Regions from separate parts of the Homo sapiens genome. Here region 1 is linked to region 2. The links are contacts of gene promoters, found by promoter capture Hi-C in human tissues and cell types (Jung and others, 2019). All regions are on one chromosome and are shown on one strand. The core of a region is centred on a gene start or on the middle of the fragment in contact, and the rest is flanking DNA. Distances in the headings are between cores, read along the strand shown. Region 1 has its middle 36 kb from the start of EDN3. Region 2 holds the start of EDN3 (endothelin 3).

What was found. The method cuts DNA at HindIII sites, captures the fragments that hold promoters and counts their contacts. A contact is called where the count stands out against the background at its distance.
Region 1: a contact is called between a fragment that was not itself captured here and the fragment with the promoter of EDN3 in region 2, in 1 of the 25 tissues and cell types used here (dorsolateral prefrontal cortex).

What each region holds. Positions count from the first base shown.
Region 1 is chr20:59,262,442-59,267,329 of GRCh38, reverse strand. No RefSeq gene overlaps it. Among named protein-coding and RNA genes, the nearest start is that of EDN3, 36 kb to the left of the region's middle. The HindIII fragment of the contact is 4,349 bases long and covers 1-3,968 here.
Region 2 is chr20:59,297,169-59,302,346 of GRCh38, reverse strand. It overlaps EDN3 (endothelin 3), which reads right to left and starts at 1,736. Exons shown (of 5, transcript NM_207034.3): 1 at 1,483-1,736; 2 at 625-937. The coding sequence starts at 1,534. The HindIII fragment of the contact is 7,655 bases long and covers 1-4,900 here.

The DNA.
Region 1 (4,888 bases), core at 545-3,044, 35 kb after region 2:
AAACAAATCACAAAATGGTAGATTTTATTGGTAATTACTTTAAATGTAAATGGATAAACATTCCAATCAAAGAGATTGACAAAGTGCATTAAAAACATGATCTATCTACATGTTGCCTACAAAAGACTCACTTTAGATCCAAAGACACAAATAGATTGAAAGTGAAAAGATATTTGTACATCCATGTTCACAGCATTACTCACAATCATGAAAATGAAGATCAACCCAATTGTCCATCAACAGATGAATGGTAAAATGCAGTATATACACACAATGGTATATTATTCAATTTTTAAAAGAGAGGAAGTTCTGACATATGCTACAACATGGATGAACCTTGAGAACATTATGTTAAGTGAAATAATCCAGTCACAAAAAGACAAATTCTATATGATGCCATTTACATGAGGGAGTAGAGTTGTCAAATTCTTAGTGACAGAAAGTAGAATAGGGGTTTCCAGGGAAATAATTTAAACAACTCCCCAACCCCTCCTTCCTGAAAGGAGAGGGAGGTCAACTCTTCCTGAAAGGACGGATTGGGGAGTTGTTTAAATGATTACAAAGCTTCAGTTTTGCAGGATGAAAAGAGTTCTGGAGATGGATGGTTTTGCAATGATATGAATATACTTAATATCACTGAACTATATGCTTAAGAGTGGATAAAATGGTAAAATATATATTATATATATGTTCATATACATTCACATATATTCATATAACATAAAATTTACCATCTTATCTATTTGAAAAAAATAAGAAAAAATAAAATTCTGTTTCTAAGTAAGTCAGAAGAGAAACTTCTTTCTCTGTAAATTCCATAGACCCAACAGTTTTCAGCAGGTATTTGGACTCATCTGGATGTGGTCTTGAGACTTTTTTTATCTTTTCACCTACAGGAAGGCAAAAATTACAAGATGATTCAAGTCATCTACTCCTTCATCCAAGGGTTAATGGACTGCAGTTCTCAAATCTTGTGGTTGACTGGCCCTGTAAGTGTTTCATTTCACAGTTTGGATTATTCCATGGAGATGAGGTTTGAGAATTACAAAGCTCAGGAAAATGGGATACTGAGACAAAAACCCAATGAGTCTGTGTGGAATATTGTGCAGCTCACACTGAATGAAGCTATTTTAATTTTAGTTAGCTCCCATTTTCAAGAATAATATAAACCTTGTAGGTAGGAGCGTGCATTTCAATTTTAAACTAACTTCTAGCTTTCTGGTCCCAGCAGAACCTCATTCCTAGATCTCCAGACACAGTATAGATTTTTTGGTCCCAGTGTTTAGGATGAAACTCCTGAGCTCTGCCTGTGCAATCCCCAGATCTTGTCTCATCTCTTCCTTCTCTCCCCTCCCCACTATCCCTGGGCCACCCCCATTGTGCTGCCAATTCCTCCAACTCAAAGCTCCCTCCACCTGGAAAACCCATTTCTTTTTCATCCTAATTCATTCCTCAGAGTTCAGCCTAAACATTCCCTGATTCTGTTGGTTCCTGGTTCCCCCAATTATCTTCTCTCATCTCACTTGGTGTGGTCTCTTTCTAGTATGCATCAAGTTGTAAATAAATAATGTATAATATTTTGTTTAATGACATCTTCTCCATCAGGTTGTGCCTGGCAGATGGCAGACACAAAATAAATACATGTTGGATGCATGGATGGAACAAAAGAAAGAAGGAAGGAAGGAAGAAAGAAGGAGGGAAGGGAGGGAGGAAGGAAGGAAGGAAGGAAGAAAGGAGAAGGGAAGGAAGGAAAGAAGGAGAGAAGGAATGAAGGGAGGAAGGAAGGAAGAAAGGAAGAGTGGAGGAAAGAAAGGAAGAAAATAAGGAAGAAAAGGAGGGAGGGAGAATGGAAGGAAGGAAAGAAGGAGGGAAGGAATGAAGGGAGGAAGGAAGAAAGGAAGAATGGAGGAAAGAAAGTAAGAAAAGAAGCAAGGAAAAGAGGGAGGGAGGGAGGAAGAAAGGAAGGAGGAAAGGAAGGAAGGAAGGAAGGAAGGAAGGAAAGAAGGAAAGAAGGAAGGAAGGAGGGAAGGAAGGCAGGTCAGTTCTCAATGGAGCCTCACAGTAGTGAATGCTATGATATGCCACCCAGAGCCCCTTTAGTGAAAGATTGTCAGCAAGCAGCCTTCAGCAATCTGTCCCTTCAGAGATTGCTTCAGTTGCAAAGAGCTGCCTCCCTCAAGGTCACAACTTTCTCAGGTAGCCCCAGGCAGCCCACATCCAGTGACTGATGAATGCAGGAGTCTAAAGTCCTGGTCTAGCCAACTTTAAAGGCCCATTCTAGCTGCAGAGCATCCCATGGGTTGGCCAAGGCTGCTGTTGCCTGTATCCATTTCCTCCTCCTCTACACAGATGTGGTTGTCCATGGTAACTCCCTAATAAACCCCTGGCACACCGAGCTCCATTTCAGAGCCTACTTCCCAGAGAACTCAACCTGAAATATTCATAATCTCTAGTAATCTAAGGCCCTCTCCTTGCAAATGGGTGGCCCCCAAACCTTAGGATAAACCAGTCGCAGAGAACTCAGGCTCCCAGGGGGAATAACACCAAGTGATATTCCCAGCTGCACTTCTAAGTTGAGCCAAAACAGTTTTTGCAAAAACCTCAGAAAAAAATGGCCTTTCTAGAGCCACTGTTGGAATCAGTAATGAGACATCTAGAAGTTTCTTTCACATGATTGAAAGAAATTTTAAGAGTAGAAAAAGTCACAGAAAGTGTAGCCTGGTGCCTGGCAATACACTAAATATCCAATAAATGTTTGTTGCAACAATGAAAGCTTCTTTTTTCTTATTCTCTGTTTCTCCCCTAAGAATTTAAAACTAGAAGATTATAAGACTAACACATTCAGCCCCATGCAGTTATTTTCTCCGAATCACTTGTTTTTAGCACAAAAGGGATAACTACTTGTGATGTATTTTTCCATTATTTTCTTTGTGCAGGAGGTTTTTAAATTAATTTAGTCTCTTTCTGCATCAGGTTGTCTTGTAATTGAAGATGTGAAGTGTTTGTCTTCCAAAGGCTTTCTGGTGATGTCTTTTTTGCTGTTAACATCTTCTTTGTCTATGCCTGTGATCCCTGCCAAATTGCCCACGGAACAGCAACTCAAGTGCATAAATTATGAGACCACATAAGCACCGGGCACATCTATTTGAGTCTAAATGTCTTAGGAGAGAAGTTTTCTTTTTGCAAAACAAACACAATCAAACCTTGATTAACTAGAACATTTGGGGGATGAGCAGTCTAGATAATTTGATTTTCTGGGTAATTTTCAGTTAACCAAAAAGTCATCAAAATTTTCAAACCCTGATGCAGAAAATCTTGACAAAAATGTCCTTCTTTCCACTTCTAGGAAAGACAGTAGAGCATAATGGAAAATTTTGGAAGCAGAAGGTGGTGGTGTCATGGCAAAAATGTTGGAGTTTAGGGGTGAAGTCCTGGTGTCAGTCACCACTTTGCCTCTCACTCAAGCTTGGGCAAAACCCTCTGGTCCTTGATTTCCCCTAAAAGGAAGAAGGAGCAAACCGATACTCTCGATTTTCTCAACTTGATGCCCAGCATTGGTGTTCATTCTTTTTCATTCCAGTTGGCTATAGAAGTTTGTAGAGCGTTTGGGTTGCATCTACTTTCACAGCAAAATCCTATCCTTCCCTATGTAAATATTTCCTTAGTGTCTACTCAGTGTTCAAGTGTGCTTGGGGATGGTAAAGCAATAAACAGCATCTATTCCCATAGACGTGTCATCCTTTCTCCTGGCTCTTTCTCCTCGAGGTGGAATGGAGCAGGGCAGGGGGATGATTTTGGGGTTTAAATTTTCATCAGTTAATGTCCTGCTGTGTGTAGGCTCTAGAAACATGTCCTAATGCAGCTGTGAAGAAATACCGGACTGTGGGCCCTGGACTCTGCCTCTGGTCCTGCCAGGGTACGTCTTTCTCTCCACTCCAGTCTCATCGTCAGCATGAGGGCTGAGCTGTTTCTGGGGCCAGCACTACACTGTCACCCTAACTCCTGAGACCAGAGCTTCTCAACCTCAGCACCTCTGGCACTATAGACTGGATACATCTTTGTTATGGGAACTGCCTTGTGTTACGCACTGCAGGACGTTGAGCAGAATCCCTGCCCTCTGCATACAGATGCCTGGGAAATAAAATTGCCCCCTCTGAGAACCACTGCCTTAAAGCATGATATCTTAATCTTTCTTGAGAAAAAGAATTTGGGAATGACAACATCAGTCATCAAATATTTGATGTTTCCTCCCAAGGAAGTTAGGTCTGAAATAGTGTCGACCTGGGTTTCTTTGCTATGTGGGATCAAAGATGCCTTCATTTCCTTTGTGCTGAGGTGCCTGGAAATTACCTTTTAGCAAAAGTAGTCCCAAGTTACGATGCTCAGGTAGAGAAGACACTGACATGGATTGAAGCTACCAGGAGGATAATAAAAACTATAAGCACAAGACTAATGGGAAGCATCTTTCAAGCTTCTGTGCTCCACGTAAGGAGAAATGAGGCTGCTGGCATGAAACAGAGGAGGAGCCACATCTTAAGGCACAGAATGATTTCTTCTTCTCTACTGAGGACAATTTTTAAACATTTTATTTGCATTGTTTTGAATTAGGGTAAAGATACACTTTCTAACATTCCCTTCACGTTCTTCACCCTTAGCACCATCTGATATTATGTAGTTTACATACGTGTCTGCCTGACTCCTGAAATGACACTTCCTCCCCGGCCCCCAGATAAAAGCTCCATGGATCCTGTATGTCTTTTTCACTCCTGTGTCCTCATGTGCCTACTACAGACTTAAGCACTCAACAACTATTGGCTGAATTAACAAGATGGAGTAAGTAATGGGAAATAGTTGCTAAATTCTGAAATGGATCAATAATGCCATTGTT
Region 2 (5,178 bases), core at 487-2,986:
CATGGCAGTGGGTGACTGGAGCCAGCCTGTGGAAGGCCCAAGGACGAGCTGATGTGAATTCACCCTGCCTTGGCATCCAGGGGGGCCCACAGGAAGGAAGGGAGCCCATCCCAGGGGAATTCTACCCCGAGTGGACTGTGCAGGTTCTGTCAGGCTCAGCTAAACCCACCCTTAGACTCCCTGGAGACCAGGATGCTTTCAAGGAATTTTAAACCCCTTGGATCCTGGTGGGGTCAACAGTGAGTATGAGCCCCCTTGGCCCCTGGGGAATGAGATAAACTTTCGGGGCTTTCTCTATCTCAGAAAAGAGGCTCAGAGAGACATCTCAGGTATCTAATCCCCCTGGTCAGTTCACTTCATTCAGAGGGAGGGCTCCTCCTTCCACAGGATCAAACTCAGGATTGAGTTTCTCTTGGGCCAGGCCCTCAGGGGGGATGTGGGTCACACCCCTGACCTGCAGAAGAGACCTGGGCTGGCAAGAGGCCCCAGCAAGAGCTAAAGGCTGTGCCAGGGCAGGCTCTGGGCTAACTGAGCGGGGCTGGGGTGGAGTGAGGTCCTCCTGGGAATGAGCAGATGTGGGCCTGGTCCGGGAGCCACGTTCCTCACCACAAAAGGCTGACTTACTCGGGAGTGTTGATCCAAATGATGTCCAGGTGGCAATAGTAGACACACTCCTTGTCCTTGTAGGTGAAGCACGTGCAGCGCCTGGATCGGTGGTGCTCAGGGGCCCCCTCGGCCGCCTGCTCCTGCCCAGGGCTTCCAGGGCTTGGACCCTGCAGTGCTGTCGGGGCCACAGTCCCCTCGCCAGGGCCAGCCACAGTCTCCTCGCCAGGGCCAGCCACAGTCTCTTCACAGTCCCCCTCAGATCTGGCTGCAGTGGGGGCCTGGGACACGCCGCGCCTGCCAGCATCCCCAGACTGGGAGCAAGGCACGAATCCTGCAGAAGGCAGATTGAGGGGCTCCTAAGCTGAGTGTGCAGACCCCTCAACACCCGCCACCCCCAAACACCTGAGGAGGGGGGTGGAGCAAGCAAAATGTCTGCAAAGTTTCCAAAGCTCTGCGCAGTTTCTGAAAAGTTTCCAAGCTATCTGCACACTCTGTGAAAAGCTTGCAAGCTATCTGCACCCGTTGAAAACTTGCATGCATTTTGCATACTTTCTGCAAACTTTGCCAGGGTTTGGCACAGCCTCTGAATAGTTCGCAAACTTTCTGAAAAGTCCCCAGTTTCATGAAAAATTGACCAAGTCGGCCCAGGCAGCAGGTCTCCAGCCAGTGCGCGGGCTGCAACTCCCGGAGCCCGTGCGGGTAGTCGTTGCGCGCCGCTTCTGCTCCCCAGCCCTCCCCCAGGCGTCTTCACGAGTGCAGAGCCCAGGCAAGAGTTTGCTCCCCGCGACGCACATCTTCTCCGCGCCTCGGGTCCCCCGCCCTGGGTCCTTTTGTGTGCGCTCGCGCCAGGAGAGGCGCGCCGCCCCGTGCGCTTACCTGCGGCGGAGGTCACTGTGAGCCCGAAAAGGAGCCACAGCCCCGGCTCCATGAACCTAGATCAGGCGCCGGAGCACCGGACCAGGAGGACGGCCGCTTGTGGCCGCGAAAGGGCACTGGGGCCGGGTACAGCTGGCCTCGCCCTCCAGCTGTGGGGGTTCGAGGCCGGCCGATCGCTCGCTGCGTCTCCAGCTCCGGCCAGGAGTTGGCTGCGGCGGTCATAAACTTTCAGAGCGCGCTGCCCATCCCTGCGCGGAGCTGGCCGGCTGTGGCTCGGGCTTTTCTGGCTTCTGCACCACCCCCGTCGCCTCCCCGCCCCCCAGAGGGGCTGGAACTGCCTCGCCGGGCCTTTGAACCCGGGCGCACTGGGGGTCGCCTCCCAGGCGCTGGGGGGAGCTGGCCAGGAGCGCAGCGGCCCGAGGCGCACCCAGGACAGCGAGGGGCGGGGGCGGCGTGGCGTGGCGCGGCTGGGTGGGGTGGGGTAGGGTGGGGTGGGGGCCGGGACAGCTGCCAGCTGCCGGAAGGCCACGAGAGCGCGCGCACACACGCACACGCGCGCTCACACTCACAGGCGCACCCCCGCCCGCCAGTTCGCCGCTCCGGAGTAGCAGCCCCCCATCCAAGAGCAAGAACAGATGAGAAAAGGCTGTGCTCAAGGGGTGTTATCTTTTCTATCAGGGGCTGAGGGAAAGACACATTTCTCATTGTTCCCCGAGTGACACCTTCCCCTTGAAGAGCCTGCTTGCCAAGGAACTCGGTGTACTTTACACTCTTGACTCACGCCTCGGGCTGGCTCCCTACCTCTCCCAGGAGTTCAGAGCCTGCGTGTGGGGCAGTGGCCTGGGAGCAAAGTCAACAAAGATCCTGGGTTAGCGGTCCTGTGGTGTCCAGGGCTTCCTCAGCCATCTGCACAGGTTGGGTGGCTTCAGGTGAGAGTCGGGCTCCTCTCCCTAAAGGCCAAGTTCATTCACACAACCGTCCCTACCAAGGGAAATGACCTCCCAAGAGAGCCCCCTACTTCCTTCATAGCCTTCCAAGTCCTGTGTGTGGGAGGCTGTCCCCATCTCCAGCTCAGATAAAAATGTCTGAGACTGGGAAGTCCTCCTGACTTCTCAGGGCACTTGTGGTCAAAGGACCCTCCTTTCATAACAGATGGGGTTGGGGGAGGGGCAGTGCTTCACATCTGTAATTCCAGCTCTTTGAGAGGCCAAGGTGGATGGATTGCTTGAGCCTGGGAGTTCAAGACCAGCCTGGGCAACATAGCGAGACCTCATCTCTAAAAAATGGGGTTGAATTGGGTCCTGCCCTCTACTAGCCTTAACGACCAGCTTCTGAAAACTAGAAAGCAGCTGAAGTGACCAGAGCAGTTTCTGAGGACAGTCCAAAAGAGTGCTACAACATCCCCCTGGCTTGATAGCTCAGGACACCTGTCCTCTGAACACAGCTGCTGTACCAGGAGGAAGCCCTAACAAGCCCACCTGGAGAGATCACCTGGAGAAACCTACGTGGAGAGAAACCGAGGCCTCCCAGCCGACCACCAGTGTCAGCCACTGACCTGAGTGAATGTGCCTTCCGATGATTTGAGCTCCCAGCCCTCAAGACTTCCAACTGAGGAATAGCTGTCCCGCTGTACCCTGTCCGAACTTCCCACCCACACAATCCATGAGCATAATAAATGGTTGTTTTACAGCACTAAACTCTGGGTAAATTGGTACAGAGCTGCAGTAACTAGAGTAGCACTCAAGCTTCCAGCACTGAAGCTGATGCTGAAGTTCTCCATCCCCCCACTCCCATCCCATCCTGCCTAGCCCTTGAATCCAAGTGTTTATTTGTTTGTTTTTGCACTTGATGCTTTGAAAATAAGAAAAACCCAAGACTCACAATATCTTCTGTTCCTGCTGGGCTAGAATTTGGATCATTTTAGTATTATCTTTGTTTGTTGGGGCTACTATAACAAAACGCCATAAGCTGGGTGGCTGATAAACCGCAGAGTTTTATTTTTCACATTTTTGGGGTCTGGAAAACCAAGATCAAGGTGCTGGTAGATTCGGTGTTTAATAAGGGCTCGATTTCTGATCATGGATGGTGACTTCTCACTGCATCCTCAGTTGTGGAAGGGTCAAGGCAGCTCTCTGGGGGTCTCTTTTCTAAGGACACCAACCCCATTCATGAGGGCTGCAACCCTCATGACTTAATCACCCCTCAAGGGCCCCACCTCCTGACATCATCACCTTCATGGATAGGATTTCAACAGATAAATCTGGAGAGGACAAATATTCAGACCATAATAATTACTATCTCTTTGGAATTAAAATTTCCATCTTCAACAAAATAAAAAGTTCTTGGATTGGGGGATGGCTGGAGGAATAGAAAATATACTAATCAGCTAAAAGGAGAAAAGGAGTAGGAGGAGGTTTCCGGGTACCATGTTCAGACACAGGAGGTATCATGGCTGCTTAGACCACTCTCTGGGTCTATGGCCTTCAGTAGCTTGAAGCCGACCACCACTTGTCTTCACTGGGACTAAAAATCAACAAACCCTGGATGAGCCTCTCAGGCACCAGGAGGTGCTAGCCAAATACCAGGATGGAGCTGGCCCTGCCCTCTGGGTCTTCTACTCTAGTTGAGGTAAGGAAGTTCAGAAATAGATCGCCAAGGATCCAGGATGCTGAGAACATAAAACGCCGCACAGAGCTAAGAGAAGAAGACAGTGTGTTCAGCTGGATGATCAGAGGAGGCAGCATTGTCCTTGGTCCCTAAAGCAAGCCGGGCGCCATGATTTGAGGCAGCAGCCTGCAGTGACACTCGCCAACACCAGCTCTCAAGCGAAAGAGCTCCCTTTCCTACTGTTCTTCTGGCTTCTGACGATGGCCAGGGCAATGACTCGATGTGTCTTTAACAGCTCTCGAACAGAGAGAGAGCTGTACAAAGGGATTTTTGAACAAAGGGATACAAAAGGAATGTAGCAGGCCATAGGCTTGTACAAAGGGATAGCAGGCCATAGGCTTGGAGCCTTTGTCAGGCTGTGGAATCGGGCTTACTGTGCATGGTAGTGATTGACATAAAATTCCTTTCTAAATTAATACACTTAAGTCAAGTAAAGGTAACCTCAATTACAATATGAAGTAATTCATTGTAAAGCCGGCTTGGAGACTTGGCAAGATCACAAAGCCTTCTGGGTTCCAGGCTAAGAAATGTGCAAAGGAAATATACAATTCATGTAACTCAATGGCAAGCTGGTGGTTTCCATCATTGTTTTGCCCTTGTGACAACTCAACAAAATTTATGCTAACATTATCCCCATCTCACAGATTAAAAAACTAAGGCTCGAAAAGGTCAAAGTAACCAGCCTACAACCATGCATCTATTAAGTGGCAGTCTATCAGGATTCAAATTTGACTCCACATGATTCCAGGGACAGAGTTCATAATGCTTAAGCAGCGCTGCCTCTGGAACTCATACCCAAGGTTTTAATGGTTCCCATTTTCTTCTGTGTATCATTGACAACTCACTGCCTCTCCATCTGTCTAGTTTCCATTCCATAATCTCTGATGGAAGGTCATGTAAAGGAATGATGACCTCTACAGAGGACACGAATGAATAGGCATTCTTCTCCGCAGACGTCTGCCAATATTCCTTGATCCTCCTTCACTGCCTCAGCATCCAATGTGCCCCTAGGAGAAGTCATGTATCAGG